Linked DNA regions of Homo sapiens: region 1 is linked to region 2. Evidence: promoter capture Hi-C in 16 types of primary human blood cells and fetal thymus (Javierre and others, 2016). All regions are on one chromosome and are shown on one strand. Each heading gives the region's core, a stretch centred on a gene start or on the middle of the fragment in contact. The rest is flanking DNA. Distances are from core to core; before and after follow the strand shown. Region 1 overlaps CCDC30 (coiled-coil domain containing 30). Region 2 holds the start of CLDN19 (claudin 19).

Region 1 (4,453 bases), core at 602-3,101, 150 kb before region 2:
AGAGTCAGAAAGGACTGCTGCTAGCTTTCAATAAATCCAGAAGTTCAGAAATCACAGAGAAGCCACCTCCTGCAGCGTCAAAGTGGAGAATTTGCAGGAACTGTCCTGAAGCTCCTACAAATGTCTCATCTGTTGTCTGCCCTTTTATCCATCTGCTAGTGCTAAAGAACTGTTGGGGGGAAAGACAAACAAACCTGTTTCTTCTTTCTATACTCGTACCACTCTGAATACTTCACTTCTGATATAGTTTGGATGATTCTCCTCTCCAAATCTCTTGCTGAAATGTAATCCCCATCATTGGAGGTGGGGCTTAACAGGAGGTGGTTTTGTCATGGGGGTGGGTCCCTCATAAATGGCTTGATGCTGTCCTCACGATAATGAATTATTGCGAGATCTAGATGTTTAAAAGTGTGTGGCACCTCTCCGCTCTCTCTTGCTCCCACTATCACCGTGTGACATGTCTGCTCCCATTTCACCTACCACCATGATTGTTAGCTTCCTGAGTCCCTCACCAGAAGCTGACCAGATGCCGATACCATGCTTCCTGTATAGTCTGCATATCTGTAAGCCAATTAAACTTCTTTTCTTTATAAATTACCCAGTCTCGGGTATTTCTTTATAGCAGTGCAAGAACAGCTTGACACAGAAAATTGGTACCAAGAAGCGGAGCGTTACTAAAAAAGATACCTGAAAATGTGGAAGCAAGTTTGGAACTGGGTAACAGGCAGAGATTGGAAGAGTTTGGAGGGCTCAGAAGAAGGCAGGAGGACCAGGAGCAGTGGCTCACAACTGTAATCCCAGCGCTTGAGAGGCTGAGGTAGGAGGATTGCTTGAGGCCAGGAGTTCAAGACCAGCCTGGGCAACATAGTGAGCCCTTGTCTCAACAAAAAAATAATTAGCCAGATATGGTGGCATGGACCTGTAGTACCAGCTACTCAGGAGGCTGAGGTGGGAAGATCACTTGAGCTGGGAGGTCGGGGTTGCAATGAGCCATGATCATGCCACTACACTACAGCCTAGGTGACACAGCGAGACTCTGTCTCAAAAAAAAAAAGAGGATGAAAGTTTGTAACTTCTTAGAGACTGGTTAAATTGTTATGACCAAAATACTGATAGAAATATGGACAGTGAAGGCCAGCCTAGTGAGGTCTCAGATGGAAATAAGGAAGTTATTGGGAACTGGAATAAACGTCACTCATGTTACACCCTAGCAAAGAACTCCTGCATTGTGTTCATGTACCAAGGATCTGTGGAAGTTTGAATTTAAGAGTGGTAATTTAGGGTCTCTGGCAGAAGAAATTTCTAAGCAGCAAAGCATTCAAGATGTGGCCTGACTCCTTGTAACAACCTGTGATCAGATATGGGAGCAAAGGAATGACTTAAAGTTGGAACTTATATTCAAAAGGGAAGCAGAGCATAAAAATTCAGCAAATTTGCAGCCTGGCCATGTGGCAGAGAAAGAATCCCAGCAGGGTATGGAGCAACTACTTGCTAGAGAAACTAGCATGACTAAATGGGAGCCAAGTGCTAGTATCCAAGACAATGGGAAAAGGCCTCAAAGGCAATCTCAGAGAACTTGGAGACAGCCCCTACCATCACAGGTCCACAGACGTAGGAGGAAAGAATGGTTTAGGGGGCCAAGCACTGGGTACCACTGCTCTGCTCAGCCTCAGGACACTGCTCCCTGAATCCCAGCTACTACAGCTCCAGCTGTGGCTCAAAGGACCCCAGATACAGCTCAGGCTGCCTGTCCAGAGGATGCAAGCCATAAGCCTTGGTGGCTTCCATGTGGTACTAAACCTGTGGGCACATAGAATGCAAGAGTGAAGGAGGCTTGGCAGCTCCCACAAAGATTTCAGATGATGTGAGAGATAGCCTGGGTGCCCAGGCAGAACCCTGCCACAGGGGCAGAGCCCTCACAGAGAAGTTCTAATAGGGCAATGCTGAGGGGAAATGTGGGGTTGGAAGCCTCACACAGAGTCCCCACTGGGGCACTGCCTAGTGGAGCTATAAGAAGTGGGCCACTGCCCTCCAGACTCCAGAATGGTAGATCCACAGGCAGCTTGCATCCTGTACCTGGGAAAGCCTCAGACACCCAGCTCCAACCAGTGAGATCAGCCACAGGGGCTGCTGCCTGCAAAGCCACAGGAGAAGAGCTACCCAAGGCCTTGGGAGCCTACGCATTGCACCATTGTGCCCTGGATGTGGGACATGGAGTCAAGGGAGAGTATTTTGGAGCTTTAAGATTTAATGACTGCCCTGCTGAGATTTAGACTTGCATGGGGCCTATTGACTCTTTCTTTTGGCTAATTTCTCCCTTTTGGAATTGTGATGTTTACCTAATGCCTGTACTACCACTGTATCTTGGGAGTAAATGACTTATTTTGATTTTTACAGGCTCATAAGTGGAAGGAGATAAGTCTCAGAAGAGACTTAGGACTTTGGACTTGATGCTGGAATGAGTTAAGACTTTTGGGGACTATTGGTAGGGAATGATTGTATCTTGTAGTGTGAGAAAGACATGCAATTTGAGGGGTCATGGGTGGAATGATACGGTTTGGTTCTTTATCCCCTCCAAATCTCATCTTGAAATGTAATCCCCGTTGTTGGAGGTTGGGTCTGAGGGGAGTGTGTTTGGGTCATTGGAGTGCATCCCTCATTAATGGCCTGGTGCTGTCCTCATAATAGTGAGTGTGCTCTTCATGAGATCTGGTTGTTTGAAAGTATGTAGCCAGGCATGGTAGCTCATGCCTGTAATCCCGGCAGTTTGGGAGGCCAAGGCATTTGAGCTTGACCTTGAACTTGAGCTCAGGAGTTTGAGACCAGCCTTGGCAACATGGAGAAATCCATCTGTACAAAAAAATACAAAAATTAATTGGATGTGTTGGCATACACCTGTAGTCTCAGCTATTCAGGAGGCTGAGGTGGGGAAGATGGCTTGAACCTGGGAGGCGGAATTTGCAGTGAGCTGAGATCACGCCATTGCACTCCAGCCTGGACAACAAAGCCAGACCCTGTCTCAAAAAATAAATAAATAAATAAAACTTAAAATATAAATAAATAAAGTATATGACACCTCTCCCCATTCTCTTGCTCCTCTCACCATATGACATGTCTGCTCCCACTTCACCTACCATCATGATTGTGAGCTTCCTGAGGCCCTCACCAGAAGCTGAGCAGATGCTGGCACCACGCTTTCTGTATAGCCGGCAGAACCATGAGCCAATTAAACTTCTTTTCTCTATAAATTACCCAGTCTCAGGTATTCCTTTATAGCAATGCAAAAATGGCCAAATACAACTTCTGACACCAGTTATGTGAGTTTTTCCCCATACTAAGCAATTCTCCAATTCTTTGTGGACACCAACTGGATGTACAAAAATGTAAGTCAGTCTGACACTATCTACCTGAAGATAGCATCAGATCCCATGAGTTAAGCTCTCAGTCCCACAATACTGCCCCCATTCGAGATGCCAATTGCAAGTCCAGGTTTTTGCTTATGCTTCTGACCAACCAGTTATAAATCAGAGGTCCCCACAACCCTCTCCTTGGGTTTGATCTTTTTGTAGGATGGCTCACAGAATTCAGGAAAACAGTTTGCTTACTGGATTACTGGCTGATTATAAAAGGACACAACTCAGGAACAGCCAGATGGAAGAGATGCATAGGGCAAGGCATGTGGAAAGGGATGTGGAACTTCCATGACCTCTGATCACACCACCCTCCCAGGACCTCCACATATTCAGCAACCTAGAAGCTCCCTAAACCCTGTCCTTTTGGGGATTTATGAAGACTTCATTATGTAGGCATGATTGGTTAAATCATTAACTGTTAGTGATTAACTCAACCTTTAGTCCCTCTCCCTTCCTGGGAAGTCTGGATGAGCCTGAAAGTTCCAACCCTCTAATCATATAATGGTACCCCTGGCAACTTGCCTACATCCTGAGGCTGCCCCAGAGTCTCCCCACCCCTCTGCCATCAGTCTTCTCATTAGTTTACAAAAAAGACACTTACCACTTCGGAGATTCCAAGAGTTTTAGGAGCAGCGTGCCAGGAAATAGGACAAAGATCAAAATATGTATGTATTATACCACAGTAACACAAGAAAAATGACTTTTCCTTCCCTTATGCTTTCCAAATTGTGTGCAAGTTCCTCTCATCTGCAGAAACTACACTTGATCCCTGCTAGCAGGGAAGTCTGGAAAATGCAGTTTTCAGGCTTCCAAGCTCATGGCCCAGGGGAAAGCTTAGAAGAGTGGGGTCATGTTGAGTTCTAGCACAGTCCACTTGGGATACTCAGCATCCATCCAAATGCTTTTACCTTGTGGCTTAACTTCTAAACTACAAGAAGAATATCATGCTTCCACTGAATATGATGCACTATAATTCATATAAATAAAGACACACTGTCTCCATAAAAATAAAGAATACTCAAAGTCCAATCAGTATCTAT
Region 2 (4,437 bases), core at 1,354-3,853:
GATTAAGTAACTTGCCCAGGTGACACAGTGCATGCAAAGCTGGGATTGATTGATCGTTTGATTTTTTTGAGACAAAATCTCACTCTGTCACCCAGACTGGAGTGCAGTGGCGCAATCTCGGCTCATTGCAACTTTTGCCTCCCGGGTTCAAGCTATTCTCCTGCCTCTGCCTCCCGAGTAGCTGAGATTACAGGCGCCCGCCACCATGCCCAGATATTTTTTGTATTTTTAATAGAGACGGGGTTTCACCATGTTGGCCAGGCTGGTCTTGAACTCCTGACCTCAGGTGATCCACCCATCTTGGCTTCCCAAAGTGCTGGGATTACAGGCGTGAGCCACTGCACCCAGCCAGAGCTGGGATTGAAACCCAGAGCCAGGGCACTTAGGTCCTTAGAGAGTCCTTGCTGCACCTGGGTGCCCATCACAGGCCTCCCGCCCCTATGGAGGGCCCCACCACACTCCTCCTGGCGCCCCCCTTTAAAGCTTCTTGGACAGCAGCTGGATCCTGTCCCCACTTCCCCCGCCAGGTGATCCAGTGGACAAAGGTCAGTGGCCCCAGAGGAGGTAAAGCAAAAGACCCAAGCCCTGGCACCCACCTGGCATTGACAGGTGTGCTTGGGTTGAAGAACTCCTGGGTCACCAGGGTGGCATACCACGAGACAGCAGTCAAAGTGCAGAGGCCTAAAGACAAAGCAGAGGGGCGCTCAGCTCTGCTCTGGCCCCCCGAGGCCACTGGGGCTGGGGCTGCCTGCCATGGTTGTGATTGTGCAGGAGTGAGGGGCACTCACCTGCCAGGATGAAGAGGGCTCCCCCGGCGATGGCAACACGGCCCTTGGCAATGGGGTTGCTGTCTCCCACCCGCGTACACTTCATGCCAACTACGCTGAGGACCATGGCCACGAAGCCCAGGAGCACGGCCACCACCATCAGGGCCCGCGCTGATTGGATGTGACCTAGGGTGGGCGGGATGACACTGAGTCGGGCTGGCGGGGATGGGGGTTGGGTCGGTGCCTGGGGTCGGTGGAAGGAGCCCAGCTTGAGAGGGGCTTGAGCAGGAGCTGGCCTGGGGGGTCAGACCACCTTCTGGCAGGTGCAGGATAGTGAGGAGTGACAGCCCGGGCATGAGGACAGGGTGTGGGGGTGAGAGTCCCCTTCACTGTCAACGCCATTCTCCACTCGCCCTTGCAGGCTTTTCCGGTAGTATGATTCACTCTGCTGTTGCTTTCTGGCCTGGGGACTCCCTCTTGGGCTTGGCCCATCCTCCCAAGCAGCTGAGGGCAGCTCCAGGGTCCCCTCAGGTTTGGTAGGTGGAAGAGCTGGGGGTATCTGAGGCCCAGCTCAACTCAGCCTGAGCCCCGCAGCAACCCCTCCCCAGCAGCCATTCAGACAACAGTCACTTTCCCCTCTGCCCATGGCAGCTGGAAGCTTGCCTCTTCACGGGTGCATGGGTCCATCCTGGGCCCTGGGGGGTGCTCAGGAGACCTGGGTCCCTCAGCGAGGCTAGATGACCTGCCTGAACTGACCTGCCTGAACTGGCACAATGGGGCTGGTTGAAGGCCGCTCTGCTCCCAGCTCCCATGGGGAGCAGATTGTCCCTGGGGGCTCCTGGGCAGATTGCAGGTGGATCACCTCCACCCCAGAGTTAGAACTTCGGCGGTGCCTGTCAGGCTCATCTCCACACCCCAGAAGGAGAGGGACTGCATGCAGACACACCTGTCTGTGCATGCATGTGCACGTGTGTGCGTGTGCATGCGTGTTTGCATGCATGTGCATGCACCCATATGCTGGCACACAGGCCTGGGAGCAGGACTAGGGAGCAGGTGTGCATCATACAGTGTGTGTCTGTCTACTGACTGTGGGGAGAAGTGGATGAAGGGTCTTAACTGAGTCTTTCAGAGTGCCACAGGTATTAGTATTCCCCTTTAGAGATGAGAACATCACAATGGGAAGAGGTTTGGTGACTAGTTCAAAGTTATAGTGACAGAGCAGGAATCTGGACCCACAGCCGCCAGACCCTAGAGCCCTCCCCTCCCACAGGGCAGCAGGCTGGCCTGGACCGTCAATGGGCACAGGGCAGTAGTGGGGGAATTGTAGAGCGGAGGCTGGAGGTTGGAGCCCAGCGCAGATAGCAGACTGTGAGGAAAACTTGCTCCAGACTCCCCTGCTGTTCCCACCTCCCATCTCCCACCCCGCCGGCCTGGGGCCTACCGTCCAGGGCGAGCAGCGAGTCGTAGAGCTTGCACTGCACTTGCCCAGTGCTCTGGGAGGCGCAGGACATCCAGAGCCCTTCATAGAGGCCCACGGCAGTGATGATGGCGTCGCCTGCGTAGGAAGACTGCTTCCACTGTGGCAGGGCTGTGCTAGCAATGATGCCCACCCAGCCACCCAGGGCCAAGAAGTAGCCCAGGAGCTGGAGGCCTGAGTTGGCCATGGCCCAGGAGAGAGGACCGAGGGTCCCAGGACTCAGAGCTGGGCCAGGGTGCCAGCAGGGGCTTTGGTCATGGCCAGGTGGGAGGAGCAGCTGGGCAGGGGGAGCAGCGAGAAGGAGGGTCAGAGGCAGAGAAGGAGAGGTGGTGCGGCGGCAGCGGCTGGAGCAAAGGCAGTGGCTCTGGACTCCAGAATGCAGGGGGAGGCCCAGGGGCTGGAAAAGGCCAGGGCCCGCCCACAGCAGCCGCCTAAGCCAGAGCAGGGTCCCCAGCAAAGCTCATGCCCAGCCCCCTGGGGGCGGAGGGCCGGCCCATGGCCCAGGTGGTGTCCCTGCCCCGCCCCGTTCCGCAGGGATAGGGAAGGGAGGGGCTGAGAGGAATGACCCAGCTGCCCTCTGGGCCTTTCCCCACAGGGAAACCCCTTTAGGAACCTGATTCGGGTGTCCTAAAATTCGGATAATCCCTAACCCAAACACCAGCCCTGGGAGGATGGACTTTGCTCTTGCAAGGCTGATCTAACCCTTGGGGTTTTCTGCCCTTTGACTTTAGGACAGAAGGGAAAGGAATGCCAGTTTGCAGCGGGTAAAACTAGAGTTAGATGTCAAGGATAACTTTTTGGCAGGGGCTCTGAAGCTGGATGTGGGGAGGCTGAGCTAGCGGTGGGGTGTTGGGAAGAGGGGTCATGGGTACCTGGGAGCTGTGTGTGCCAAAAATCAGGGAGGCCAGACCAGGAAATATGTACTGTGGGGTCTTTTTGAGATCTGAGGGGGACAGAAAAGGGGCCCTATCGAGGCTGGGCCAGCGCTGGCTGCCGGCCAGCAAGGGGCCTGGTGGGGAGCTGGGGAGACAGCCCCAACCTTCTGGCATCAGCCTGAAGGAAGGCGGATTGCTCAGCCCCTTAATCCCCTTGCTGGCTGGCTTAGTAGCTCCTGCTGGGACTGGAACACTGGGCCCTGGCCCCCAACTCTAGAGCAGCCTGGCGCGGAGCAGTGGCCTCTGCACATTCCCGGGGTTCAGGCTGCCCGCTCCGAGCACCCCCACCTCCCTCTTCTCTCTCCCAGTCTCTCTTGGTCTTCAGGAGTAGGGGAATGTTTAACTCTCTTCCACCTCATTAGCAATCCCCTCACGTTCAAGTGGGCCCCACTGCAGCGTGGGTGCAGAAGGAATGTCACAACCCTGCTTCCACTCCTGCCAGCCCCCCGCCGCCCCCTCCGTCCCCAACAGCCCACCCACCCTTCCTGGACTGCACTGGGGGAAGGCAGGGTCCTGCTGCAGACCCCTGCTGGCTTCCTCCCCCACAGCCCCAACCCCCCTCTGAAGGGACAAGTCCCCAGCCCGCTCTTGCATTCTTCACGTGGCTATGCAAACGAGAGGGTGCCAGGCGCTGAGCAGACAATGGCAGCCCTGTGTGCCCGCCCAGGGCGTAGGCCTCTGGTATGGCCTGCAGCTCTGGCCAGAGATGGGGGAGTGGTCTGCCATCTGAGGGTCAAGGGTGGGCACTGCTTGACCTGTGGTGGTGCACACTGGGACCCTCAGGCTCTCTGTGCTGGGAGGGTCAGAGCCACGTGGATCCGAGCACACACAGACCTGCTTCCTGGACGACCTGTGGGTCCCAAGACCAAATGGGGTCTAGGACAGTGGCAGAGAAGTAAGTCCTGAGCTCAGATTCTTCTACCACAATGACAAGACAGTAGGATTGAGGGGAGCCTCCTCCATCCTACTGGGGCCGCAATGGGCACCCTGTGACCAGTGCATTAATTTAAGCATGTGGGCCACTGTTGCAGGCAGCAGGCCTCCTAACAGTAAGGAGACCACGGCAGAGGGAGGTAATAGACCCCCAGCCAGGAAACAGCAGGAAGGGCTTTCCGCTTGAAACTGTGTGGTGCTGGCCCCTGTGGTCTCTCTCCCACACTCCTCCCTTTTTGAGGGAGGCACCAGGTCCAGATTGAAGGGGGCTGCGGGCAGTGACAAGATGCTCCCCAGGGGTGACCTGAATGACTGTGGTGCCTCA

Evidence for each region. The method cuts DNA at HindIII sites, captures the fragments that hold promoters and counts their contacts. A CHiCAGO score of 5 or more calls a contact.
Region 1: a fragment that was not itself captured here is called in contact with the fragment with the promoter of CLDN19 in region 2 in 7 of 17 cell types (activated CD4 T cells, non-activated CD4 T cells, megakaryocytes and 4 more); the score reaches 7.5 in activated CD4 T cells.

What each region holds. Positions count from the first base shown.
Region 1 is chr1:42,589,693-42,594,145 of GRCh38, forward strand. The region is part of intron 14 of CCDC30 (coiled-coil domain containing 30); the gene reads left to right. The region is part of intron 1 of LOC124904162 (a long non-coding RNA gene); the gene reads right to left. Among named protein-coding and RNA genes, the nearest start is that of PPIH, 67 kb to the right of the region's middle. The HindIII fragment of the contact is 4,786 bases long and covers 1-4,244 here.
Region 2 is chr1:42,737,633-42,742,069 of GRCh38, forward strand. It overlaps CLDN19 (claudin 19), which reads right to left and starts at 2,604. Exons shown (of 5, transcript NM_148960.3): 1 at 2,209-2,604; 2 at 789-953; 3 at 597-681. The coding sequence starts at 2,431. RefSeq lists an enhancer at 3,961-4,437. The HindIII fragment of the contact is 4,341 bases long and covers 1,424-4,437 here.